6 separate regions of the Homo sapiens genome follow, and all the other regions are linked to region 6. Evidence: promoter capture Hi-C in 16 types of primary human blood cells and fetal thymus (Javierre and others, 2016). All regions are on one chromosome and are shown on one strand. The core of a region is centred on a gene start or on the middle of the fragment in contact, and the rest is flanking DNA. Distances in the headings are between cores, read along the strand shown.

Evidence for each region. The method cuts DNA at HindIII sites, captures the fragments that hold promoters and counts their contacts. A CHiCAGO score of 5 or more calls a contact.
Region 1: a contact is called between a fragment that was not itself captured here and the fragment with the promoter of RTRAF in region 6, in 1 of 17 cell types (non-activated CD4 T cells). The highest score is 5.1, in non-activated CD4 T cells.
Region 2: a contact is called between a fragment that was not itself captured here and the fragment with the promoter of RTRAF in region 6, in 1 of 17 cell types (M0 macrophages). The highest score is 5.3, in M0 macrophages.
Region 3: the fragment with the promoter of PSMC6 here is called in contact with the fragment with the promoter of RTRAF in region 6 in 4 of 17 cell types (total B cells, neutrophils, total CD4 T cells and 1 more); the score reaches 7.4 in total B cells.
Region 4: a fragment that was not itself captured here is called in contact with the fragment with the promoter of RTRAF in region 6 in 1 of 17 cell types (M0 macrophages); the score reaches 5.3 in M0 macrophages.
Region 5: a contact is called between a fragment that was not itself captured here and the fragment with the promoter of RTRAF in region 6, in 5 of 17 cell types (endothelial precursors, M2 macrophages, megakaryocytes and 2 more). The highest score is 6.5, in endothelial precursors.

Annotation. Positions count from the first base shown.
Region 1 is chr14:51,229,517-51,234,012 of GRCh38, forward strand. No RefSeq gene overlaps it. Among named protein-coding and RNA genes, the nearest start is that of TMX1, 8.5 kb to the right of the region's middle. The HindIII fragment of the contact is 4,378 bases long and covers 1-4,298 here.
Region 2 is chr14:51,368,503-51,372,997 of GRCh38, forward strand. No RefSeq gene overlaps it. Among named protein-coding and RNA genes, the nearest start is that of LINC02310, 26 kb to the right of the region's middle. RefSeq lists an enhancer at 266-850. The HindIII fragment of the contact is 685 bases long and covers 2,247-2,931 here.
Region 3 is chr14:52,705,124-52,709,741 of GRCh38, forward strand. PSMC6 (proteasome 26S subunit, ATPase 6) reads left to right here and starts at 2,077. Exons shown (of 14, transcript NM_002806.5): 1 at 2,077-2,181; 2 at 3,186-3,265; 3 at 3,360-3,399; 4 at 3,641-3,693. The coding sequence starts at 2,097. RefSeq lists enhancers at 1,628-1,737, 1,758-1,817, 2,118-2,367, 2,388-2,437. The HindIII fragment of the contact is 4,351 bases long and covers 1,376-4,618 here.
Region 4 is chr14:51,307,411-51,312,163 of GRCh38, forward strand. The region is part of intron 1 of LINC00519 (long intergenic non-protein coding RNA 519); the gene reads right to left. Among named protein-coding and RNA genes, the nearest start is that of LINC00519, 19 kb to the right of the region's middle. The HindIII fragment of the contact is 2,076 bases long and covers 443-2,518 here.
Region 5 is chr14:51,289,134-51,293,453 of GRCh38, forward strand. LOC124903315 (a long non-coding RNA gene) reads left to right here. Exons shown (of 2, transcript XR_007064164.1): 2 at 4,019-4,320. Among named protein-coding and RNA genes, the nearest start is that of LINC00519, 37 kb to the right of the region's middle. The HindIII fragment of the contact is 1,337 bases long and covers 767-2,103 here.
Region 6 is chr14:51,987,346-51,991,872 of GRCh38, forward strand. It overlaps RTRAF (RNA transcription, translation and transport factor), which reads left to right and starts at 2,201. Exons shown (of 8, transcript NM_016039.3): 1 at 2,201-2,355; 2 at 3,972-4,096. The coding sequence starts at 2,295. It overlaps LOC105370497 (a long non-coding RNA gene), which reads right to left and starts at 3,239. Exons shown (of 3, transcript XR_007064166.1): 1 at 3,174-3,239; 2 at 1-1,344. RefSeq lists enhancers at 1,986-2,280, 2,621-2,680. The HindIII fragment of the contact is 14,873 bases long and covers 1-3,155 here.

The sequences.
Region 1 (4,496 bases), core at 860-3,359, 760 kb before region 6:
GAGAGGACTAGTCAATAATCCTAATCTTGGCCTACGGAGCTGTGAGATTGTCTGAAGAGCCATGTCCTTTTGTGATGACACATGGCGTCATACTTCTCCAATTGTGTTTTGTTTCTAGTTTTAGCGATAGTCTTTTGCTGCCACTAACTATATATATGAAAGGATTTCTTTTCCAAGCTGATATACAAAAGGCTTTCCCCTTTCAGGATATCAGTGATACTGTTTACTACAATATCTGTGAGATAATATCTTTTCTCTTATTCATCTGTAATTATAAACATACATGAAGATTTTTTCGCATACATGTTGGAAAAAGGTCCCACTTTTCAGTTCATTCCATGTGATGAAGTACCTAGAGTAGGGTTCCAGAATGTAGGAACTTTTTTTTTAAATTTGAGACAGGGTCTCACTCTGTCATCCAGATTGGAATGCAGTGGCACGATCTCGGCTCACTGCAACCTCTGCCTCCCAGGCTCAAGTGATTCTCCTGCCTCAGCCTCCCGAGTAGCTGGGATAACAGGCACACACCACTACCGCCCAGCTAATTTTTGTATTTTTAGTAGAGATGGGGTTTCACTATGTTGGCCAGGCTGGTCTTGAACTCCTGACCTCAAATGATTCGCCTGCCTCAGCCTCCCAAAGTGCTGGGATTACAGGCATGAGCCACCGTGCCTGGCCTGTATGAACCATATTTCTAATTCTTAAAATATATTGCCAAATTATTTCCAAAAGTGCTGTTCTGATTTATCAGGCTAATAGTCATGTTTTGTTTGATGACTAGTGTTCCAAGTATCGGTTACCTTCTAAATTTTAAAAACTTAAAAGGTAAAAGAAATCTATACTTTCCATTTACGTTTATGTTATAAATATACAGAAAAATTTCATTACATTGACTTTATATATGTATGTATATATGACTTAATATATGTGTCTGTGTGTCTGTGTGTGTATACATACAGAGACATTGATGTCTGTTGAGTTAAGCACATAGAACTTCTATGTTTTTATGTAATCTTGGTGTCTCTAACTCTTTGGGCTATAGATTTAATTAGCCTGCAGAATCTGGTAATACCAATGACCTATAGGTACTGAAGAAACAATGATAAACATGATAGACACAGTTCATAATCTGGAGTCACAATCCTGTGGGGGAGACACAAGTAAGTAGGCAAATACAATACAGTATACTAAATGTGAAGTTAGAAGTTCAGGGTTCAGAGAGTGTACCAGGGAAGACATCATACCCAAACTAATTGGCTTAGGAAAGACTTTCTGAAGAAAGGGATACATAGGTAAAATCTGAAGATTGAATAGTTATGTGGCAATGAAGCAGGGCAGTTGGGGAATGAGGGGAGCAGTATACCTTCCACAAAAACCTAGAAGAGAAAATATAGCTTGGTCAAGGTACTGTAAGAAACCTAGTATGACTTTATCAGACAGTACAAAAGAGGTCAAAAACTGAGGCTTGGTCATTAGAAAAGGCCAGATACAGTATGATTTTGGAGACTATATTAAGAAAGTTGAACTTTATGCTAAGGATAATAGAAAGCATGTTACCTAGCCATTAAACAGTTTTAAGTAGGGGATGACATGGTCAGCCTTGTGTTTCAGGAATACCACTTTGGTTTTAGACAGGAAAATATACTTGGTGAGCTGGGAGGATGCAAGTATAAAAGCATTGAGACTAGTTAAGAACCTTGCATGTTGTAATAATCCACATGAGACAAGATGATGGCTTGGGTTGGGCTTCCAGATGGCAGTGTAGACCCATCCCAGCAAAACAAGCATAATTGGTTGTATGAGTTTGCTGGGGCTGCCATAACAAAGTACCAAAAACTGGGTGGCTTAAACAACAGAAATTTGCTTTCTCATAGTTCTGAAGGCTAGAAGTTTGAAATCAAGATTTTGACAGGGTTGGTTTCTTCTGTGGTGTTTCTTTTTGGCTTGTAGATGGCAATCTTCTCCTTGTGTCTTCACATGGTCTTCCCTCTGTACTGTACAAGTCTGTTTTCTAATTTCCTCTTCTTACAAGGATACCAGTCATTCTGGATTAGGGCTCACCCTAATGACCTCATTTTAACTTACTTGACTCTTTACAGACCCTATCTCAAAATACAGTTACACTATGAGTTACTAGAGGTTAGGACTTCAACACATGAATTTGGAGGGGGCACACAACTTCATCCCATAATACTGTTGAAAACTATAAAAACAAAAACAACCATCTAAAGTCTGTGGAAATTGTCCTAAGGGCATACAGCAAATGAAGAAGCATTCTTTTTTTTCAAGAAAATCCACTAAAACTGAGTAAGAACAGTAACAGTCTATGGCGTCTGAGCCATACACTCGATTCCTACCCATCTTCCTCACCCCCTGAGCTCATCTTGGTCAAAACTCTACTCTGGGTGAGTGTGACCAAGAACATAGGGCTCCCTGTCTCCTCAACTCTCAATCAAGAGAGGCAATATCTCACCAGGAGGAAAAGGCCACCAGCATTTTTCATCCATTCCAACTCTGAGTTGCAAAGGCTAAATTCCTGGTAAGTGTGGCCCCATACAGGGGACAAAAGTTCTATGCCAGGTGCAGCAGAGTGAGAACACTGGGAACTCCAATCACCCTTAACCCAGCTTGCTCATATGGCAGAGGTTCCACTTCAGAAGCAAGTCAAGAAGATCAGAGCCTCCTGTTCTACCCAGTGCCCAGAATAATAACTAAGCAATTTTGCCCATGAGTAGACGCAGCCCATAAAAACAGAGAGCCCTGAAGCTCTCCCCAGAGGACTTACCTTTATTTGAAACAGAGTGTGGGTGATGGTCAAGCCTCGGGTTGCTCTAAAAAAAACAATAGTTTCCTGTAATAAAAAGCAACAAGCTAAACCATAAGCTAGCTAGTTTACCAGAGAGAACCAGGGAAGGAGACAACTAAGAAGAGCCCTCTTGAGGTTAGAGGAAACCTCCAAGACTGGCCTCAAAAACTACCAATGCCTGAATTTTATTGGATTAGACTGTGGAGCAATTTATGCCCCAGGGGGTATCTTCTTAAACAGAGAAATCATCCTACACTTAGTGTAGCACAACAGCTAGAGGTAACACCAAACGAGACAGAAAGTTTAACAGAGAGATCAAGGAAAGAGACAGTCAAAGAGAGCCTTGCTAGAACCACTGATATCCCCTGGTGACGGTGCACATGTCCAAGGCTGCACTCTCTGAGAAATGGGAGCAGAGGCCTTCCGCTACTGGAGAAATAGACTTCACCAAAATAGCCTAGCCAAGTCACTAAACAAACCACAATCAAATAAAAACAAAAGACAAGTCCAAACCATATAGAGGGAATCAGTACTCAGAATTGCTATAATGTATTACCTAAAATGTCCAGTTTTCAATGAAAAAATTGTCATGCAGCGAAATAGCAAAGTATGACCCATAGATCAGAGAAAAAAGTAGGCAACAGAAACTACCTGTGACAGAGCCAAAATGTCAGATTTAACAAAGATATCAAAGCATTCATTATAAACATATTCAACAAACTTAAATAAATCGTGCTTAAAGAACTTAAAGGAAGGTATGATGACAATGTTGCATCGAAAAGAGAATATCAATAAATAGAAATTATTTTTAAGAAGCACCAAATGGAATGTCTAGAGTTAAAAAGTACAATAACTGTAATAAAAAAAATCACTACAGGCGCTCACCAGTAATTTGGAGGCAGAAGAAAGAATCTGTAAACTTGAGATAGATTCACAGAGATTATGCAATCAGAAGAACGGAAGAAAAAAGAATAAAGAAAAATGAGCAATAAATGTGGGACACCATTTAGTTTACCAACATATGCTTAACGAGATTACCAGAAGGAAAGGAGGGAGAAAGGAGCAAAAAATACATGGATTTGAAGAAATAATGACTGAAACCTTCATATTTTCCAGAAAACATTAATCTAAATGTACAAGAAGTTCAACAAATGCCAATAGGACAAATGCAAAGAGCTCCACACCCAGATACATCATAGTAAAAATGCTAACAAAGACAAAAAAAAAACTTGAATGCAGCCACAGAAAAACAACTTGTCACGTACAAGTGAACCTTGATAAGATTATTAGATACCTCTCATCAGAAATAATGGAGATCAGAAGACAGTGGATGACATATTCAAAGCACTGGAAGAAAAAACTATACACCAAATATCTTATATAGAACAAAACCATCTTTCAAAAATGAAGGTTAAATGAAGACATTCCCAGATAAACATAAACTGAGAAAAGTGGTTGCAAACAGATCTTCCTTATAAGAAATACTAAAGGAAGCTTCTCAAGTTAAAAGCAAGTGTGCCTAGATGGTAATTTAAAGCCACAAGAAAAACAAAGAGAATGGGCAAAGGTGATTATGTAATTATAAAAGGCAGTATAAATGTATATTTATTTTCCTTTTGTCTCTTAGCTGATTTAAAAAACAATTGTATAAAACAATTTTTTACAATTGCATTGTTAGGCCTATAACATA
Region 2 (4,495 bases), core at 1,339-3,838, 620 kb before region 6:
TTCAATGAAGAGGTAAGATTTAGAAAGTTTGCAAAATTTCTTCCAAAAAGGGAAATGTCTGGGATTTACGTGACAGAGGCAAACCCTTACGTGATGCTATGTTAAGGCATGTAAATGAATACTGTGCTGAGTTTCTCAGCAACCTATGGTGTTGGGAAGGGCTGATCTTCTGATTTTGATCTAGGAAACGATAGGAATATAGTCAATGGCTACATTTTCTTTTTCTCTCTTGGAATCAACCATTATAAAGAGCAGGCATCTTTGGGGATTTTGGTGTCTGCACAGCTGAATCAGCATCGGAATCAGGAATGTGCGAGGATAACATTCTGCGGTTTGGCATTCCTGTCTCAATTCCTCCACTTCTTAGAAAAGAAGCGTCACTCACTGATATTCTCCCAAACCAGCTGTTGAGTATAATAAAGACCTTCCTCTTAGTATTAACATTAGATTGTATTCTTAGGCTCTAATTTTTACCACGGGATTTTTCCCTAAAGAAATTAGAGAAATCACTTAGCCATTGGCATGTGTTAACTGTAACCAGGTCATGTAGCTCTTCTGAGCCTGAGGCAAATAAACAGAAAATCTTAGCGACATGTGCTGAGAACTAGGTTAAACAAATTTCTCAGGATGGGTTGCAGAATAGTTTGCTGGTGCTGGCAATGAAGTGTAGAGGCACTTAAGAGGGATGATTTTTCTCGCTTTTTACCAAAATGTCTTTGCTTCCCTCATAAGCCACTTTCTTCCGAAAGCCAACCATGTTTTTGTTTATTTGTTTGTTTGTTTGTTTGTTTTTTGAGGCGGAGTTTCGCTCTTGTTGCCCAGGCTGGAGTGCAACAGCGCAATCTCGGTTTACCGCAACCTCCGCCTCCCGGGCTCAAGCAATTCTCCTGCCTCAGCCTCCCGAGTTACAGGCGCGCGCCACCACACCCGGCTAATTTGTTTTTTTTTTTTAATTTTTAGTAGAGACGGGGTTTCGCCATGTTAGCCAGGCTGCTCTCAAACTTCTGACCTCAGGCGATCCGCCCGCCTCAGCCTCCCAAAGTACTGGGATTACAAGCGTGAGCCACCGCCCCCGGCCCCGACCATGGTTTTGTAAAGAGAGAACATTGAAAACATAATTGGTCTTTGGTCTATCTAGTTTCTCCATTTTGTACCCTTCTTTCACCTTTGCCAGTAATACTCTTTTCTCTCGGAAGACCCTGGAATGTTTCTCTAGTGTCAAAATTCATCCCAGCTAAGACTTGTGAACTTAACACCAAAGAGTAACCTGTTTATATCACAGTGCAAATTACACAGAACTATCACTCTTCCAGTGCTTTTGTGATAAAGAAATAAAGCACTATCAGAAGAATACCATGCATCCGCTAGGTAGTGAAGATTTTTAAAAAGTGGGCACAAAATTAGAACAAATGGAACCCTGAAACCGCACTACATAGGCAAATAGCTGAGTACAGATTGAAGTTAGAGAACCCTCGAGGGGCTAGGTATGAGTCTGCAATTATGATAGGCGGCCATCAGGGGGCATTTCAGCGCCTTGGTCGTGTGGCCAAAGGATCAGGTTTACCATAATCAGAGAATAAGGTAATTTTTACTTCTTTAAAAATAGAGTAGTTTAAATAAAATTATCAATTAGGGTTTAAAGATGATTCATATGAGCAAGTTCTTAAACCAAAGCCAAGGAAAAAGTGCGCTACCTGCCTCACTATGCGGTTTTCATAATTCAGGGTAGCCTTGCTTATGGCCCTAAGATGTAATAATCATGTTCCTTCTCACTCTGATTTCTTATTTGGGAACCATATTCTTTTATTGGGTTAAGGGAGAACTTTTTTTTTTTTTTTTTTTTTTTGAGATGGAATCTCACTCTGTTGCCAGGCTGGAGTGCTGTGGCACGATCTCAGCTCACCGCAACCTCCAACTCCCTGGTTCAACAGATTCTCCTGCTTCAGCCTCCTAAGGGAGAACTTTTAAAGGGGATTTTCACAATTTCAATAGCCCAGCAGTATCCTCTCACTCTCTTTTCCTTTTCCACTGCTACATGGAATGGAAGGAGCTGCTCGCTGTGTTAAAATGTGGAGATTATTTTGAAAATTTGAATATGAAGAATAAGTGTCTTAAGCCATTCTCTCATTTTTATAAAGAAATAACCTGAGACTGAGTAATTTATAAAGAAAGAGTTTTAATTGGTTCTCGGTTCTGCAGGCTGTACGGGAAGCATAGTGACATCTGGTCCCGGGGAGGCCCCAAGAAGCTTACAATCATTGTGGAAGGCAAAGTGGGAGAAGGTACATCACATGGCAAAAGCAGGAGCAAGAGAGTGAAGGGTGAGGTGCCACACACTTTTAAATGACCAGACCTCCCAGGAACTCACTCATTATCTCGAGGACAGTCCCAAGGGGATGGCACTAAACCATTCATGAGCAATCCACCCCCATGATCCAGTCACCTCCCATCAGGCCCCACCTCCAACACTGGGGATTACATTTCAATGTGAGGTTTGGGCAGGGACCACATCCAAGCTATAACAAGTAGTTACTTTAAAAGAAGTGAAGTAGTCTTAGCTGATATCTGCAAGATATTAGAAGGGCTTTTCAGGTCAAATTACTCTGAGGTTCTCAAGAGAGAAGTCTGACACATATAAGATAAAATGTGTGAGGTTTAATCCATCTGAAACTCTACAGTGCTCCCCTTTGCTTAAAGATTAGGTGTAGATTATTCCATCTAATATGAATGAGTGTAGGACTCACATAGTGGATTAAGTTAATGCTGAGTGGCAAGGTAAAGACATAAAAATAAATCTTAACGTTTGACTCAGGAGATTGCATTTAATTTGGCAGCTAGTAGGAAACCATTGAATGTTTTTGAGTAAGAGGGGTGGCATTCATGCAGTAGTGCTTTAGTGTCAGGGGAAACAAAGGACAGAAAAAGCTCAAAAGCTTGGTGGAAGTGGAATCCATAAAACTAGGTAGCAGATCAAATGTAGAGACTAAAGAAGAAAGATGAGTTAAAGATGACTCTGATGATGAGTAGGAGGATGATAGTGTCCTGAAAGAATAGGGAGGCCAAAAGTTGGAAAGAAATATAAACTTGACCTTCAACATGCAGAGTTGAGAATCAGATAAAAATGTGTATGTGAAGTGCTTTGGAAGGTGCACAGGATCATTGTCATGTAATAATACCATTTAGTAAACACAAGGCAAGTATTTTATGTGTAGGATCTCAGATACAGGCTGTGCCCCCACTGTCAGGAAAATGACCCATAAGTACAGGAGAAAGAACTTCAGGGCAGAGGAAGACTATGTCCTGAGCTTTTTGTTTTGTTTTGTTTTTAATCAGTTGGGGCAATTAAAAGAGGCAATGAGAAAGTAGCAAAGAGAACATAACAAGTGAAACAACAGGAGGTCACTCTAAATAGCCCAACGAGTTGGAGATGACAAGCTTCAATGTGGTAGAAAAGACAATGGGCTTCAAGTAGGACTGGCTGAGTTCAAATTCAGACTCCACAAGTTAACTAGCTGGCTTATGGTGGGCAACTTCACCTCTGCATGCTTCAATTTCTCTATCTGTAAAACGAGGCTATTTAAAGTATCTGCTCATAGAGTTATTGTGAGGATTAAGGGAGATCATACTCGAAAGTGCTAAAAGCAGTGCCTGGAACACCGCCACAACTCAAAAACTGTTAGCTGTCAGCAGTAGTATCATGGAAGTTAAATCAGAGAAAAAAAAATTTAACTATTATTTTAGGTTCGGGGTACATGTGCAGGTTTGTTACACAGGTAAACTTGTGTCACAGGGTTTGCTGTACAGATTATTTCATCACCCAAGTACTAAGCCTAGTACCAAATACCTATTTTTTTCCAATCTTCTCCCTCCTCCCACCCTCCATGCTCCAATAGGCTCTAGTGTCTGTTGCTCCCCAATTTGTGTCTATGAGTTCTTATCATTTAGCTCCCACTTACAAGCGAAAACATGTAGTACTTGGTTTTTTGTTCCTGCATTAGTTTGCTAGGGATGACAGCCTCCAGCTCCATCCATGTTCCTGGAAAATACATGATCTCATTCTTTTTTTATGGCTGCATAGTATTCCATGGTATATATGTACCACATTTTCTTTATCCAGTCTACCACTGATGGGCATTTAGATTGATTCCTTGTCTTTGCTATTGTGAGTAGTGCTGCAATTAGCATATGTGTGCGTGTGTCTTTATGGTAGAAAGATTTATATTCCTTTGTATATATACCCAGTAATGGAATTGCTGGGTTGAATGGTAGTTCTATTTTAAGTTTTTTGAGGAATTGCCACAGTGCTTTGCACAATGGTTGAACTAATTTACACTCCCACCAGGAGTGTATAAGCATTCCCTTTTCAAATCAGAGAAAATTTCAAGGAGGTGGTCGATGATGCCAAACTTTTCTTAGAGTGGTGACGGTGGAGGGCAAAATTTGTCTTTAAAATATGAAATTTCAATAAGAAGATTAGGGTGATTGCAATAGCAGT
Region 3 (4,618 bases), core at 827-3,326, 720 kb after region 6:
TGTTCGGGAGGCTGAGGCAGGAGAATCACTTGAACCCGGGAGGTGGAGGTTGCAGTGAGCCGAGATCGCGCCACTGCACTCCAGCCTGGCGACAGAGCAAGACTCCAACTCAAAAAAAAAAAAAAAAAAAAAAAAAAAAAAGAAAAATAGAATGGAATATTCACACAATACCCATGAGAATTGTTCCTAATAAATTTGAAGGCATCCTTTATGTGACTTTGGGTCATTAATTTACAAAAATTTGTACTTTATTTGTATATTTAGGATGTATATATTTAAACTCAAACATTCATGGCCATTGGATAAGGTGAGACCAAATGGAATCTATTTGGAGAATTTTACTCATGTTTTTTGGACAACAATTAATTGTCCCCAGGAACAATGATAGCAAGAGGTATAGCAATGAGGACCTGTAATGCAAAAATTGGAGTCATTACTACCCTTAAAATAAATATCTATTCAAAAGAACACTATTGAGTACATGCCATGTGGCAGATGTTGTGTTTAGGCACATTATCCTATTTAATACTCATGACAACCCCATTAGATAAGTGCAATTATTATGATCATTTTACAGAGATATTGAGGGAGTATGTAATTTTCCCCAAATCACAAAAATCTGAAAGTTGGCCAGGCGTCGTGGCTCACGCCTGTAATCCCAACACTTTGGGAGGCTGAGGCGGGCGGATCACTTGAGGTCAGTAGTTGGAGACCAGCCTGGCCAACATGGTGAAACCCCATTCCTACTGAAAATACAAAAATGAGCCGGGCGTGGTGGCGGGCGCCTGTAATCCCAGCTTCTCAGGAGGGTGAGGCACGACAATCGCTTGAACCCGGGAGGCAGAGGTTGCAGTGAGCCAAGATCGCACCACTACACTGCAGCCTGGGTGACAGAGTGAGACACAGACTCAAAAAAAAAAAAAAAAAAAAAAAAATCTGGCCGGGCGCAGTGCCTCACACCTGTAATCCTAGCACTTTGGGAGGCTGAGGAGGGTGGATCACCTGAAGTCAGCAGTTCGAGACCAGCATGGCCAACATGGCGAAACCCCGTCTCTACTAAAAATACAAAAATTAGCCGGTTGTGGTGGCGCACACCTGTAATGCCAGCTACTCCGGAGGCTGAGGAAGGAGAATTGCTTGAACCCGGGAGGTGGAGGTTGCAGTGAGCTGAGATCGCGTCACCGCTCCAGCCTGTGCGGCAGGAGCAAGACTCCATCTCAAAAGTAAATAAATAAATACATAAATCTGAAGGTTCTATCAGACTTCAAAGTTCCTGCCTCAGCCTACTTCAGCATCTTTATCTTGTACCCCACATCTCTACAACCCACCCCCTACTGGTCTCATTGGCCTCCTTTCTGTTCCTGGAAGTGAGTCAAGCTTTCTACCCACAACCCCCACCCCACTCCACTCCAGGACTTGCACTGTTTGTTTAGGTTTTCTTCAGTTGTTGCAAGGCTGGCTCCTTCTCATCTCAGATATCTGTTCTAGATTAATTCTTCCCACCATACTTCTCACCGTGTTTTAATTCCTTCACAGTATTTGTTAAACTCTGAAGTTTTTTTTATTATTATTTCCTATCAAATGATAAGCAGATCTACCTTTAATACCTCATTCACTGACTGAATGGATGAATAAAACTGTCTACTTCTCCAGCACGTGGAGGTCTTGGACAGTACTGTGTTATAACAAAGGCCATCTGTGTTGTGTCGACAGGCCATCGGAACTCCTTTGAGGTATTACACATTTCCTACTTCACTTCCATCTCAGTTTATTACAGAGCCTTTTATACTTCCGGGACAGCAGTGACTTAATACTGAGGCCTCTCAGGGGAAGACCGGGATAACTGAGTCCTGCTTTACCTATCTCGGCTTGCAAGAAACGGTATAGGTGGAGGCCTCTTTCAGTGTATGCCGGCGCTCTAGGTGAACCGAGACATAGAGGTGGAAGTGGAGTAGAAAGACGGGGCCAACCGGAAGGGGAGGGCTCATGGGCGAACCCACCCCTCCAGGCAGGGTTTCGCCCCTCGCCCCGCCCCTTCCCCCGCCCGGACGGCCATGGCCATTCCCGGCATCCCCTATGAGAGACGGCTTCTCATCATGGCGGACCCTAGAGATAAGGCGCTTCAGGACTACCGCAAGAAGTTGCTTGAACACAAGGAGATCGACGGCCGTCTTAAGGAGTGTGAGTGCACCTTTCTTTCCATTTAATCAAGTGCCTCGACTCGCTTCTGCCTCTGACAAAGCAGAAGCCTTTCGCCGAGCCCGGCAACCGAGCCTTAGAGATGACCAGGCCTAGGGCCAGGGACAAGGCGCTTTGTCATCCGGCCCTGAGCTTGTGGAGCAGCACTCCTTCGGGTGTAGAAATGGCCCAGTCCAGCCCGGGTGACAGAACATCGGCGGCCTTGAGGTGAAAATGAAAAAGAAGTAGAGGAGGAGTGGGGAAGTGGGCCGAGGATGTTTCCCAGGTTAGGGTGCAAGAAGGGCAGTCTTGGTGGAGTCCCGGGACTTGGAGAGGGGAAGGCGCTTGAGTCAAGTAAGCTCAAACAAGAGATGAGACTCAGGGAGTCGGCTTGTTCTTGGAGTCGAAAGACGGCCGCGGAGCTTAAGAGAGAAGTGTTCCAGTTGTCATAATAACCCATATCGTCTTGTGTTTCGTGTTGTACTGTATCAGGCATACAAATTTCCCTTACCTCCTGAGTGCTTAACTTTTTTTTCCAGTGCATTTTCATTGAAAAGCATGAGTAGTTTAATTAAATGGAGGACCATAATTACATGATTCTGTGGAGAACTGCATTTGTTGACTTTATTTAGGGTAGAATGTCAGAGAACAATCCACGTGGGTAGGTGAAGAGGTGAGGAAGGGTCTAAGTGATTATCATTCGGATTTGTAGTCGCAAATCCTAAGTGTCAGGGTGTCAATATCTTCTAAGACTATAACTTAAGATGTGCTTAAACAAGTATTGCCGATCAACAAAGTAAAAGTATGGTGCTTTCTCTGTAACATTTTGTTGTTATACATGCCACCTACTCATTACAAACAGCATTATTTCTTTTATGGTTTGAAACAGTGGATGTGAAACTTAGGTAAAGTGAAGTAGACTTACGTAAACAGTAAAGTGAGACGTAGCGACTTAAACACACTAAGATTACTGTTCAATTAAAAATGTTCAAATTGTATTATTTCAGTAAGGGAACAATTAAAAGAACTTACCAAGCAGTATGAAAAGTCTGAAAATGATCTGAAGGCCCTACAGAGTGTTGGGCAGGTAGGTGATGGAGTTTGGGGAATAGGGGGTGATGGTAATTTGCTTTTTTATTTAGCTGTTGCCAAAAAGTAATGCTTTTTATTTTCTTCCTTAGATCGTGGGTGAAGTGCTTAAACAGTTAACTGAAGAAAAATGTGAGTGATGAATTAGCTTATTAATTAGTAAAGAAACAGTCCACCTCTCTCTCACTTTTGAAATGCTTATTATTTTAATGACAATAATGCAGAGAGAGAGAGTATTTTTGAATAGACTTAAGTTTTCCTTCAACTAATGTCTCCTTGGAGGACAGAAATACAACTAAACCCTCTGTCAACGTGGGTATGTATTTTTTTACTTTCTATTTTTCAATTAGTTCTTTTATGTTTTTTCTTCTAGTCATTGTTAAAGCTACCAATGGACCAAGATATGTTGTGGGTTGTCGTCGACAGGTAATACTTTATATTTGTATAGTGCCTGATGATTGACAAAGCAGTTTCATGTAAGTTATTGTCTCTAATTCTTGAGGCAAGCAGGTGGAGCATTTATGCCCATAACTCACAAGGATGATTTGTTCAGACATAGCTAGTTATTAACAAAGCCTGAATTCAAACCATGGGCTTTGACTCCTGGCATTCCGTACTTTCTACTGTATTACATTGTCTCAGTCAGATCTGTTAATAGCCACTTAGAAATAAAAGTATTTTAGAACTGGAAAACAGACATTTTATTTTAATGTCATTTTTAAAGAGGACTTAAAAGTGTTAGATATCATCAGTTACCTGTGTTTATATTTAGACATTCAGAACTGTTACTTATGGACTGTACCATGGCCTAAGTTAATTTTGTATGAGGTCATTTAGATTAGGGTAGGGCAAGTTGAAATAATTCTAAATTTTATTTTACAGTTATCAAAGATGCCAACAAATGACCTCAAGTCATTCAGTAGTGTCTGAAATCAATTTATGTATTATTCTTTAGGAAGTGTCCTTAGATAATTCTTTTAAATTCATTGGAAGAGTTTTCTCTGTTTAATTGTCATTTCAGGTTCAGGTTTTAAAACATTCACAGAACATGGCTGTAAGGGAGAATTTAATCCAGGAACTATAAATCTCCTATTAGGATTTTGCCTAGTATATAAGCGGTTGACATTTTCTAAGTCAAAATATTAGATACCTAAACTGACAAGGGATTTTCATGTCCCTTTCAGGGCTCTGTGGATGCCGAAAGTTGGCATTTCTAAGATATTTCAGGTTGCATGAGGACAAGACTGTATTTGAAGACTAAAAAACATTAGAAAAGCCGAAGTATATATAAGTTGAGTATCCCTTATCCAAAATGCTTGAGCCAGAAATGTGTTTTAGATTTTGGCTTTTT
Region 4 (4,753 bases), core at 231-2,730, 680 kb before region 6:
CCCTCTGTCTTGATAAAGTGCTAAATCTGTCCATTATAGACAAAGATCTATAATATGTCCATTAAAAAAACACTAAGTACCTTATTAGAAAAGACTGAAATCAAATACATGGAAAATGGCCCCATAACTTAAGCCCACACTTTTATTACAGTTTTTAAAGAGAAGAGTCAACATATTTGTAGAACCATTTCCTATAATACTTTTCAATAAATTATATAATTTGCACTTTTGCTTAGCGGAAATGAAATGTGTTCTGAGAATTGTAAGCCCACATTGAGCTCCTATTTTACTAATTCCCTTTTAATGCATCATCTCAGTGACTCACATTTAGCACCACATCTTACTGGCTAATTATCTCTACTTTTCAGTTTAGCATCCTACTTCATGCTAATTGAGTCCTTACTTGTATTTTGTGGGTATGATTTATCCCAACTATACTGTAAGCTTCTTGTAAACAGGAGTTCATGTATTTTTCTACTTCTGCATTGTAGTTACCCTGTGTAATAGGCAAAGTCATAGAACAGTGAAAAAAAAAAACAACCGACATCTCAGGGGCTTTGTTTCCTACTCAACCTGCATGTCCAATATGGGTCCGCAGGGGAACTCTGACACATCCATCACCCTCATATTCACCCTACTAAGAGTTGTGTTCTCCCAGGGACCCAGGCTAATGAAGGCTTTGTCTTGACACTTCTTTCCCTGATCAAAACAACACTGAGGAGGAAACATGACAAACCCCATAGCTGGATTTTATAGCTCCTGCCAGTGTGTAATACATATCATTCCACATGCATGTCATTGGCTAACACAAGTCACACGGCCATGCCCAACCTCAAAAGTGGTGGGCAAATGCAGCCCTATTGTGTGCCAGGAAAGAAGAGAGTCAAGAATACTGGCAGCTCTGCACTCATGATTCACACTCAGTGCTGCTCAGTTCCAGCTCATGATGGGATTTCTATCATAACTTGTTTCATTGAAGTTTGGAAATGCCTGAAGGAATATATGTGGGCTCAAGGTAAAGAGAAGGCAGTTACTGGTTGAAAAGAAGAAAGTGTGGCTACTGTGTGTTTGTACTCTTTCTTGTTTCAATTTCTAAAATCTGGAAGGGAAAGCCCTAAAGAATATTTCAAAATAAAGGACCCACATGAATACCTGCCTTTATGTAGCCAATAGGTGTGTACTGACTAATCATCTGGTATTCCGCTTGACCTAGTCAACATTTCTGCCAATGATTTGCATGATTGCAGATGTTGACATGCAGAAAACATTTGCATACTATATGAACCTGGAACCAAATTACTGGAATGAATAATTTGGGTGATAGAATTATGATCCAAAGCTGGGATCATGGGCTGGAATAATGGGTTCACTGTAAAGGATAAATGTGTGATGTTTGGGTCTAAAGACCAATTCAATTACAAAACTACAAGATGGCAGAGCTTTGAATAATAGCATATGTAAAAAATCTTCATGATTTTATGTTGACATGAATTGTATTCTTATCTGATGGTGGGATATGGTGGACAAATGAATTAAAGGAATGTCTGTCTGCATGGGAACATGACACCCAGGCCCATGAAGGAGGGGCTCATGAAGTCTGCTCAGGCATTGTGCAGAGCCTTGAGCTAAGTTTGGCCTGTCAGTGCTTGAGGGACCTTGACAGATGAGCCTGCCCAGAGGAGAGTAGTGAGGTTACCAATGGAATGAGAACACTCAAGGAGCAGATGAAGGGGCTAGGCCAGCTTATCCTAGAGAATAGAGACTGGATTGGGGAAATGTGGGATGGGAAGGGCAGCCTTCACATACTCATAGAGCTACCAGGTAGAAGAGGGAATAAACTTTGTCTTGCTGTGGAAGGCAGAGCAAGGATAGATCATAGCACTGATTTTGACACAACGGAGAATAGAACTCTGTGAAGTCCATGTCTGTGTTATTCTGTGTTCTAACCGAACTCTGTGAAGTCTCAGTTAAGTTTCTTCTATGTTATGTCACAGAGAAGATTCATGAATCCAAAGAGTAGAGTGACCAACTTCGTTTACCCAAGACTCAGAGATTTTTCTAAGACTTAGAATCTTCAGTGCTAAAATCAGAAAAATCCCAGGCAAACCTGGAAGAATTGGTCACCCTACCAAAGAAGTTTGCTTTTAATGTTATCTAAGGTCTCAGCCCCCTCAGAGATTCTATGATTTCTAAGATAGATATGTTGATTTTCTCAGAAAAATTTCAGGTAAATGCAGTGATTCTTATACAGTACTTTTGGTTCTCAGTCCCATGCTAATTTAATCATGAAAGACTTTTACATGTATTTTGAGCAATTATTCCACATTTGTGTTTAAGATTTGATCATTGCCAGTAGATTCATGCCCTACAATTGTATCAAATAATCAGGAGAATATTTCCCTGCAAGTCCAAAGTCATTAATTACATAAATGAACATTTTAGAAATACAGAACTGCACCTTTCTTAAGAAACCACAGTGGGTAATTTGATTGTTTGAATGGCCGTTATCCTTAGATGAAGCTTTATGAAGGTGAACGGCAGAACAGGCTGTTCCATCGGAATGAAATTTCACTAGGCTTATACACAATGAAAGAGCTATTTGTGTTCAAGACATCCTAGTAGAAACTTTGTTCCTTTCTTTTAATCATTTATTATATATGGGATTCTGGAATAAATTTATTAAATCAATCTGCAATCTTGAAGATTTGTTCATTTTTTGGGGTTCAATGTTTGTGTATTTAGGAATAAGACCTTCACAAAGAGGTTTTTTAGTTTTCCCTTGGCATTCTTTTTGGTAATATGCCACCTGGCCATTCTAACTGTTCAACTTCAATACAACCATGCGATGGTTTATTGAGGTCTGCCAACTTCCCTAAGCCATTTCCCTTATAGCACACTTGACAAAACCATGTTAATAGAGTCCTACGAGATGAGAAGAGTAACTGGTGAATGGGCTCTATTTTTTAATCTAGTTGGTGATTTATGGAGAAGAGAAAGAGACTCTTCAGGTTTCTGCCTTTCCATCTCATTTCAAGAACAGAAATACATCGAGGTAAGAGAATCATGGCAAGGCTATTGATGTGGCTTAAGGGCAGTGGCAATAAAAAGAGTTTTGACTGAGAGGAAAATAGTGGGAAACAGCTGCTCACTCAAGCCCACTCCACCACATGCTCCCTCCTACTTTGGTTTGGCTTCATGCCTTCTGGGAATTTTCCTTGGATCATGCATCTGACTCTTCTCTCTGCTGTCACACAGAATAACTCTATTCTTGGATCTGTGTTGTTCACTGTAGTTGTTGATGAAAGATTTACTATAAGGCCAGGAAAAAAACCTTGTTGTTCATGATGAATAAAGCCCCAAATGGGTACAGTCTTGGACATTCTACTGCTTAAATTATCAACCATGCAAGAGAGGTATACAATTGTCTTAGCTTCCTGTCTGTATCACTCTGTGTACTGTGGCTATGGTAGCTTTGGAAACTAATTGGAAACAGAAGCAATGCAGTGTAGGATAGTGACACATCCCCGAGAAGATCTTATACGAAGAAGAGATGCATTTATTACTAGAATCTGCAACCCCCCCTCACAATCTCATCTATCTATTTTCACAAGTAACACTCTGGAATCTCAAACTGAGTGTGGAATTGTATACTTACCTTGTATGGCCTTTCACATTGATTTGAAAAGGAAGTCAGAACTGAGTATTTTTAGTGGACACTGCAATTTTGATCCAGAATATCTTAACTTTTTATGAATCATTGCAATGGTAAATATTGGAAATCCGTTGTTCAAGTTCAGAAAAAGGCTCACCAAAGGTAAATAGCATGTGTGCTCATCAATGATAATTAGCTTGCTTTTATTTAGCTATATTCCAGCCATGTTTAAACACCCATGGGAACATGACTGCCCCTTTCTGGGATTGCATCTGAAGTTATCTACATGGATAAAGGTGGATTCCCCCCCTTCCTTCTTGGTACTCATTTTTCCTGGATTTGATCTTTTTCTCACACTATCCACACTGAGGAAAGGTGAATATCTCCTCAGCATTTCCCATGATTAGGAGGAAGATGATACTTGATTGTAGAACAGAAACCTACCCTCAAGAGAGAAGTTGGGAAAGAGGTTTTGAGAAATAATTTGCTTGTGCAGGAACAAGAACATGGAGAGACTTATGAATGTTGAGTCAGAAAACTCACTGTGATGAGAATGAAGTGTATAAAGTAACTTAGCAATGTCAGTGATGCAGGAGAAGCTGTAGAGTGGGCCAGTGGTGTTGCTCCCGGGATAGACATTTTCATGGACCTGTCATGCTGGACTGGCACTGTGCACACTGCTGCTCTTGCTGTGCTATCCTACGCTGAATACATTGCGGTCTCAGATTTACTGTGACTGCACTTTTCAAAAAATAGTGTTTGAAATTTATGAAAATATGAAAATCTGAATGTTACTAATTGGATTTATACTGCTTATCAAGAGATTCTTCTTCACATATACTCAGGGCATTGCTGAACTGAGGTATCACCACCTTTCTGCCCAGTCACTTTCCACGTTTGCTAAGTTCTCCTGTAGGCTGCCCTGTCAATGTGACGCTTATTGCACATGGCCTATGTGCCACCCTTCCTGTCACCTTCAGTTTATCCCATGCTTGAATTGCACTATCATGTTATAAATCCATCAGAGAGTTCTTGTTTTATTCAAACTGGTATCAAAACAAAATTATCTACAGGCAGCCAAGCCAAGTTTTTCCTTTACTT
Region 5 (4,320 bases), core at 185-2,684, 700 kb before region 6:
GTGTGAGCCACTGCTCCTAGCCCAAGTATTTTTCAGATCAACTTTACTGAGTATAATTTACATATAATAATAAACTAGTACAAATGATTGTACAAGTGGTTGAGGTTTTACAAATGTATTCATCTTGTAACTATTACCAAAATCAAGACACCAAATAGTTTTATTACCCCAGAAAGTTCCCTCATACCCTACTATGGTTAATCTCTCCTTCCATTTTTGGCCCCAGGCAACCACTGATATGCTTTCTGTCACTACAGATTAGTTTGCATTTTCTAGAATGTCACACAAATGACATCAGACATAGTTATGATTTTGTGTCTCAGTTTTTTTGCTCAGCAGAATATTTTCACATGTAAATATTTTTCATTTTGCTCATCTTTTTTCCATACCTAATCTTTCTACCACTATCACCATGACTGCTTTTTTTTTTTTTTTTTTTTTTTTTTTTTTTGTGACAGAGTCTTGCTCTGTCACCTAGGCTGGAGTGCAGTGACATGATCTCAGCTCACTGCAAACTCCGCTCCCCAGGTTCAAGTGATTCTCCTGCCTCAGCCTCCTGAGTAGCTGGGATTACAGGCACGTGCCAGCATTCCCAGCTGATTTTTTTGTATTTTTAGTAGAGACGGGGTTTTGCCATGTTGGCCAGGCTGGTCTTGAACTCCTGACCTCAGGCCTCCCAAAGTGCTGGAATTACACTTTGTTGCTCATAAAATAGCAACAAACTGTGCCCAGCCACCACTACTGCTTTCTTAAATCAGATAACTTAAGCTTGATATGTATATTTCCAGCCCTCTATCAATATTCCTACAAACATATACACATACAAGGGAGCCTAGGTGATTTGGTCTGTAAAAGTCATCCTTACAAGATACAAAATAAGATGGCAAAGGGAGGGCAGAGAATGGATTTGGAGGGGCAAAGGGAAAATAATCAACAGAGGTAGGTAGGTATTTCTGTTTAACAGATGAGAAAACTGGGAAACTCAGAAGGATCCTACAGTTAGTCAATGGCAAACCCAGCATTCCAACGCAACTCTTCTGACTCCAAATCTCATCTCTTATTTCCCTCCAAGAGGGTTTTTTGCTCCATAAAATTTTGAAGGCCCTGAGGGCAAAGAAATATAGGGCCTGGAAAAAAGGTAATGTTAGTGATGAGGATAATGATAATGATGATGATGGTGCTGATGGAGGTAATGATGATGATAGTGATGATGAAGATGGTGATGATGGCAGTGATTATGATGGTGATTGTGATGGTGGTACTTTAAAGCAATGATCCCCAACCTTTTTGGTACTAGGGACCAGTTTTGTGGAAAACAGTTTTTCCATGAACCAGAGTTGGGGATGGTTTTGGGGTGATTCAAGTGCATTACATTTATTGTGTACTTTATTTCTATTATTATTGCGTTGTAATATATATGATCAAATAATTATACACCTCACCATAATGTAGAATCAGTGGGAGCTCTGAGCTTGTTTCCTACCACTAGATGGTCCCATCTGGGAATGATGGGAGATAGTGACACCCAAAGTGTGTTGGTTATGTCCAGTCTACTCCATAATCTCGTTTGGGTTGCTGTCACTGCAGAAAACCCTGCTTCACAATGATAGAAAGTTGGAAATGGAAGGAGGATTTTCAGTGCTTTTATGGCAATCTCAGGACATTCCAACTTGACTTTAATCCAAAAGATACGGAGATTTGAAGTTGTCTCAAATGTGCTTTTAAGGCCACCAGATGCAGTTGTACAATTGAAGGACATCAACTCACTTGTTGCTATAAAGTCTGCCACCAGATGTAGCTTGTCACTTGCCACTCACTGATTTGATAGGAGTCTGCAAGTAATTGATTTATTATGGTCTCTGTGCAGTCAAACCTCCCTGCCAATGTTAATCTGTATTTGCAGCCACTACACAGCACTAGCATCACCACCTTAGGTTATCAGGCATTTGATTCTTCTAAGGAGCATGCAACCTGGATTCCTCACATGCGCAGTTGACAATAGGGTTCATGCTTCTGTGAGAATCTAATGTTGCAGCTGATCTGACAGGAGGCGGAGCTCAGGTGGTAATATGAGCAATGGAGAGTGGCTGTAAATACAGATGAAGCTTTGCTGGCTTGCCCCTCATTTCCTGCTGTGCGGCCTGGTTTCCAACAGACCATGGACCAGCGCTGGTCCATGGCCTGGGAGTTGGGGACCCCTGCTTTAAAGAACACCCAGATCCAGGGAAAGCTGAAGGTAACAGAAAATAAAACCCCCCCTTTCCACAGTGCTTTCACCTGTTTTTTTCTCATTTCATCCTTACTACAATCCTGTGTGATGTGTATTATGATCATTCCCATTTTAGAGAACTTGAATCCAAAGCAATTTTTCAACAATGAGCAAGAGAAGCAGGTGATAAACATTTATTCTGCTTTTTATATTCCTAGTGTTTGTAAAAATCAGTTCCAAGTCTTTTAATGGCACGTTAGGCTTTCAATAAATTTGGTAAAAATCACCAATTTTTCATGCTTAAAAGCAAATTTTGTTCATGCCAAGTTACTGCTAAACTGTTGAGAAGGAATGAATTGAAGTATATTAACTTAGAGGGATTTCAGTTTTATTGTCACTATTATCTTTAGATGGGGAGATGAAGATGCAGATAAAGGCATATTAGTAGGTCCCATTTTGATTAAATATATGTTAAACATTCCTTCTTAAGCTATGGTGACCAGCCGGTAGGGAGAGAGAAAGAAGTCAGGGGGTTTCTTCCCCCATCTCTGCCCCCTTCCCTCCTTGCTTGGCTGGGGTTTAAGCAGATGGCCACAGATCCTGCTGGGCAGCCCCTCTCCCACAGCCATGTCCCTAATGGCCCTGACAAGGTTCCCATAACATCATCCCTTCTTCTTGCCCCTTAGACTTAGGGGCAATAATTGCTTCCTGCTGTTCCTGGTTGCTGATTGTTTTACCATTCCCTTTACCCTGCCCATTACTAAGCTGATATTGCTCAGCTCCTCACCACCCTTTTTTATGCCCTGCTTTTTGGTACTGGGCTGTGATGTTCCAAAAGACATCCCTCTTTGTCAGCAGCTCTCTGTCGGTTCTGCCAATATAGGGTGCTGTGGGGAGCCTGCAAGACTGGAGGGAGGAGCAGGGACCCATTCCTCCTTTTGCTTGTGCTTCCCCTTAGACTATCCTCAGCAGCCATCCTTCCTACAGCAGCCTTGGGATGCAGCCTCCCGTGTTTTTCTGGCACTCTCAGGGCCGTCCTTGTGCTTGCTCTCAAGGACCTGTAATAACCGGGCAGCCCCTCTTCAGAGGCCTCAGACCCACATCTGCTGCCCTGCTCCGAGCTTCTGGGTGACAACACTAAGCTCTTCCCTTTGTTTCCTGGCCCGAGTGGTGCTAGCCTGTCCTTCACAGTTGCTTTTCTGTGTTACTTTTATGATTCCTTTCACATATTCAGATCTCCAACCCCTTTCTTTTTTTCTTTTTATTGTGAAAAACACATAAATGTTACCATCCTAACCTTTTTAAGTGCACAGTTCAGTGGTGTTAAGTAGCTTCACATTGTTTTGCATCTAATCTCCAGAACTTTTTCATCTTACAAAACCGAACCTCTCTGCCCTTGAAACAGATCCCCATTGCCCGTCCCCCAGCCCCTGATGACCACCATTCTACTCTCTGTCTCTACGAATTGACTACTTTAGATACTTCATATAAAGATCTCCAATCCTTTCTTTATATTTAATTCACCTTATTAAAATAATCAGCACAGTTTTTGTTTTCCTGATTGGACTCTGACTGATCCATCTCTGTAAATAGTCCCTTCTTTAAACAATTTTCAATTAAACTCTTTGAATGGCCATCTGATCCATGCTGGGACCGCAGCTGATACACTATGGAATTACTGGGGAGGTCAGATGAAGATTAGGTTAAAATAATAATAACAGTAAAAACTCTTTTAACTAAAAAGCACTATATATTATAATTCATAGTAGTAATAATTTAAGTGAGGCCACATCTGAGCTTCCCCTGCAGGGCCTTGAAACACTGACATCCAGAGAAGAAGAATAATAAACAAGAAAGTGGCTGCAATGCCAGAGTTTCAACAGATCCTTTGTGGCTCTAGAACTGGAACTCTGTCTCCTTTTCTAAGACAGGATGTGGGGAATCTTATAAAAAGCTTCATATTTGTATTCACAAGTTAATGTGGGAAAGAAACCAGGATTTCTGTGTCCTTAAGTGATACGGAGACTCTGGCTCCAGCAAGACAAGGCTCCGATCCCAGATGTCAGTCCCCAGCGATTCAGGGACACTTCAACATCCTGACTTCAAATGAA
Region 6 (4,527 bases), core at 951-3,450:
TCCAACCTCCCCACTCCTGGTGGTGGCCGGGGCTGATGACTAGGGACAGTCTTAAGTTGCTGACAATGGGGACCCTGAAGTGGAAAGACTAGGCCAGGAGCAAACAACTTCATTTTTTGCCTTGAAAGGTCAATTTCAGAAAACAAATGGTAAGAGATGTTTTTCCTTATTTTTTTAAAGAAATTCATGGTCTGCAATTGTATTTTTCCCCCTTTTTAATTTATTATTTATATGTAAGTATTTATTATTTTCCCTTCCATGATTGGTTCATTTTTTCATTTTTTGGTTAGTATTTCATTAATTATACAACTAGCATGCACTACAATATGAGATTATAGCCATATCTTTGATCAAATTTTGTTGGAAATGAGACACTCTTGAACTGATTTTCTTGATTCACTCTATAAGCACCTTAATTGAAAAATACAGATTATCTTACAGTGCCCCCTTAAAACTAAAGCTGTATTCTAGCCTCTGTACTTCTTTTTATTATTATTATTTTTGAGATGGGGTCTTACATGTTGCACAGGTTGGTGTGATCATGGCTCACTGCAGCCTCAACCTTGCAGGCTCAAGTGATCCTCCCACCTCAGCCTCCTGAGTAGCTGGGTCCACAGGCACACACGAGCATGCCAGGCTAATTTTTCTTTCTTCTTTTTTTTTTTTTTTTAGTTTTAATAGAGACAAAGTCTCACTATGTTGCCTAGGCTGGTCTCAAACTCCTGGGCTTGAACTATCCTCCCACCTCAGCCTCCCAAAGTGCTGGGACTACAGGCATGAGCTTCTGCACCTGGCCTGTACTTCTTTGTAGTACATTTTATATTTCTTGTAATTCACTTACTCTTTCTAACTCCAGATTATAAGTATTTATTTACACATCTATATTTGTCATTATACTTAAACTTCCTGAAAATAGAGACTGTAGTTTACTCATTTGTATGCTCCTCAGATCCTAAGTGTTTAATTAAAATCTTAATTAATGAAATGAAATGAAACGTACATAGTTGGCTTACCCCCAAGAATTTCAATAGCTCCCCTTAGCTTGCCATGAGAGGCTTTTCCTTATCAGAGCCCTGCCTTTGTCTATAGTCTTATCAGCTGTCATTCCCTCTCACCCTCCAGCCCCTATAAGCTCTAGTCCCTCTGGGCCATGCTGTTGCTCATTTCTTGCCTTTATACATCCTCTTCCCTCAAACTAGGTTACCCTTTTGACTGCATGGTGAATGCCTCACCATCTTCAAGCCTTAGTTTATACTTATCTGTTTATTGTTTCCCTCATTAGCCTTTTAAACTCCATGAAAATAGGGGCCTGGTCTGTCTTGTTCACTGCTCTCTCTCCACTGTCTGAAAAGCAAGTAGAGACTGGATCAGGAAAGATCTTAAATACAATAAGGAGTTTTGATTATTTCTAGGGGGTAACCAGGAACCACTAAAACATAAGCAGAGAAAGTTATGTACAGGTTTTTGCTTTAGAAAAATCTCTCTCATCGCTGTATGGAGGAATGGTTTGGAGAACGCAGGACTGGCCCTAAGAAATCAATCAGATAATTAGAGTAAGCAAAAGTGATGAGGATCTGATCTGTGGCTGTATCAGTGGGGTCCGAAAGGAGGTGAGGGATTTGAGAGTTAGGAGAGACAGAATGGCAGGAATTGGTGACCTACTGGATGCTGTGACCGAGGGTGAGGGGGAGTGAGGGACGATCTCGGCTTCAGATTTCACTCTGGCTGAGGATATCTGGAACGATCGCATCGTATTAACAATTGTATGTTTACCTGTGGATCACTCCCAATTAGTCTGAAAGCATCTTACTATAGGGACCTTGCTTTGTAGTCTTTGTATTACCAGTGTTAGAAGAGCACCTGTTATGTAGGAGGAGTAATAAAATGAATGAATGCACTCAAAACACTAAACAGTAATTCTGTAATCCAACGGGAGGTACAGCGAATACCAAAAGCCTACATATACTATTCTCTGCATGCTATAGCAAGAAAGAAAGGAAAGTGGCTTCCCGGTGGTTTTCTGCCTATTGTACAACCAGGAAGCTGACAATAAAGTTTATTTGAGCGTCGACGTGCGCCGACGTGGCCCCGCCTCCCCAGCCGGAGCCGCGATTGGTGGGCATTTGCCGGCGGCCACCGCTTTTAAGCCACGATTGGCGAAGGCCGCCGTCATTTCGGAGCGACTCAGCGCCTGCCCGCCCTCTCGCCGCGTCGCCGGTGCCTGCGCCTCCCGCTCCACCTCGCTTCTTCTCTCCCGGCCGAGGCCCGGGGGACCAGAGCGAGAAGCGGGGACCATGTTCCGACGCAAGTTGACGGCTCTCGACTACCACAACCCCGCCGGCTTCAACTGCAAAGGTGAGGCGGCGGCCTCAGCCCGGCCGCGTGTCCCTGACCTGGGCGGAGGTCCCAGCCTCAGTGCCCGCACCCCACCTCCCCGTCGGGACCCTCGGCGGCCTGGTTTCCGCCGGCAGCCTCCGGGCCCCTCTCCTCTGGGTCGCCACGTACCTCGGCTCTTCGCCGCCCCTTCCCGCCTTTAAAGCCCTCTCACCTACTCCTGTCTCGGCATGTTACTTTCTGCACTTGCTTAACTCCAAGCATCACGTAACTACCTTCTCTGTACATAAAAGGGAGAGCATTCGTCTTTCTCACTCACTATTCAACTCCATGGTTCCCTGGGTAATTAGGCGATACCTTGAGCACCTGCTAATTATGGGCCAGCGCGGTGCTGGATTCTGAGGAAGGTGCTGAGTAACTTGAAGACTAGTTCACTGCCTGCCAGGAGCTAAAGGGACGAGGGGTGGAAGCAATCAGAACCCACTGAGCAGTTTGAGACAGTACACAATGAAATCAGGACCGATCACAGTGGGAGGGTAAGCGCGTGTAGTAACGGGCTAGTTGTGTTATGTGGTGTTGCAAAAAAGTTAATAGCAGATGAGTGGGAAGGTTGAATTGTGAATACAAAGGTATTTGGGATTTTACAGCATTAGAATTTTAAAAAGTAATAACGTTGCTACTCACTGTAACTAAACTGCTACCCACCACTACTCGTTTCCTTTGTATAGTTGTGGCCTGTGATAGACTGGTAAGTTTGAAAGTGATCAAGTATAACTTGTGATACTCAGACCACTGTGTAATTCTCAAGACCTTATAATGGAAGCTTGAATTTGACTCACAAATTGAAAATAATTTCTAAGCAGGATGACAGTGTTTTGTTGATCGCCTGTAGAAGCATATCAAATTATAATCTATTGTTTTTCTACTTTAACAAAAAAGTATCAGTGACAATAGAGCCTTGTTCTGGATTGGAATCTTTGAGTCTCAATGTTCTTATCTGTAAAATGGGATATTACCTACCTCAAAAGAGGTATGGGGAGGATTAAACGAAACAATTATGCACTTAATGTGCAGTTAACATTCCATGACAACAGTTGTCACAGTGTCTTTTTTGTCATTTAATTTCTTTTACTTATTATTTTGTTGTATATTTTACTTTATTACTTTGCTATAAATTTAACCTTGCCCTCCTTCCCCTTTCTGTCCGCAAAGGAACTGGAATATTAATATGTAACACTTAAATAGCAAAACTATGTGCCAGGCACTGTTTTTATCCGTATTTATTTTATTTAAGAAACTTCTTAAATAAAACAACTTCTTTTAATCTTCATAACTCTATGAGGTAAGTTCTATTAGCACCCTCATTTTGTAGCTGAAGAGTCTGAGGCACAGAAAATGTGGGTGATTATCCCAAGTTCACACAACCAGTAAGTATCTGGACCCAGGATTTGAACAGATCATTGTTAATCTGTACTTTCAACTCCAGAATCTGTACTTTCAACTCCCTCTTTTGGTTCAATTAATTTAGTATTTTGAAGTTAAGAAAATTCCACAAGAACATATATCTGAACATATACCTGAGAAGGAGGTATTTTATGTAGTGCTTCTAGTTATTTATGTGATATTTTTTATTGCAGATGAAACAGAATTTAGAAACTTCATCGTTTGGCTTGAAGACCAGAAAATCAGGCACTACAAGATTGAAGACAGAGGGAATTTAAGAAACATCCACAGCAGCGACTGGCCCAAGTTCTTTGAAAAGGTAATGAATTAGGAAGTAAAGTAAAAATACAGAGAGTTTGTCTGAAAAATCATGAAGATGAGCTTAAAATTACTTTCTTCTTTTAAGAAAAAAATGATAATGATCAGTGTTAGGAAAGCTGGATTTCAGGGATTTTGCTTTTTTCTTAGATGTGTCTTTTGCTTTTAGAGCAAATTATTTTATGTCTTCCTACCAAGCTTTCAGTATTAGGTAGAAATAGTTTTCTCTAGAAACATGAAGTTTCTTAAATAAATAATGATGTAAATATTTCGCTTTCCCTTTATGGCCCAAATCAGAATTTTTGTTAAACACAGTACTATTTCTTATATTAAAAGAAGACATTGGCTAGGTGTGATGGCTAACACCTATAATGCCAGCACTTTGGGAGGCTGAGGTGGCAGATCATTTGAGCTCAGGAGTTCTGACAGCAG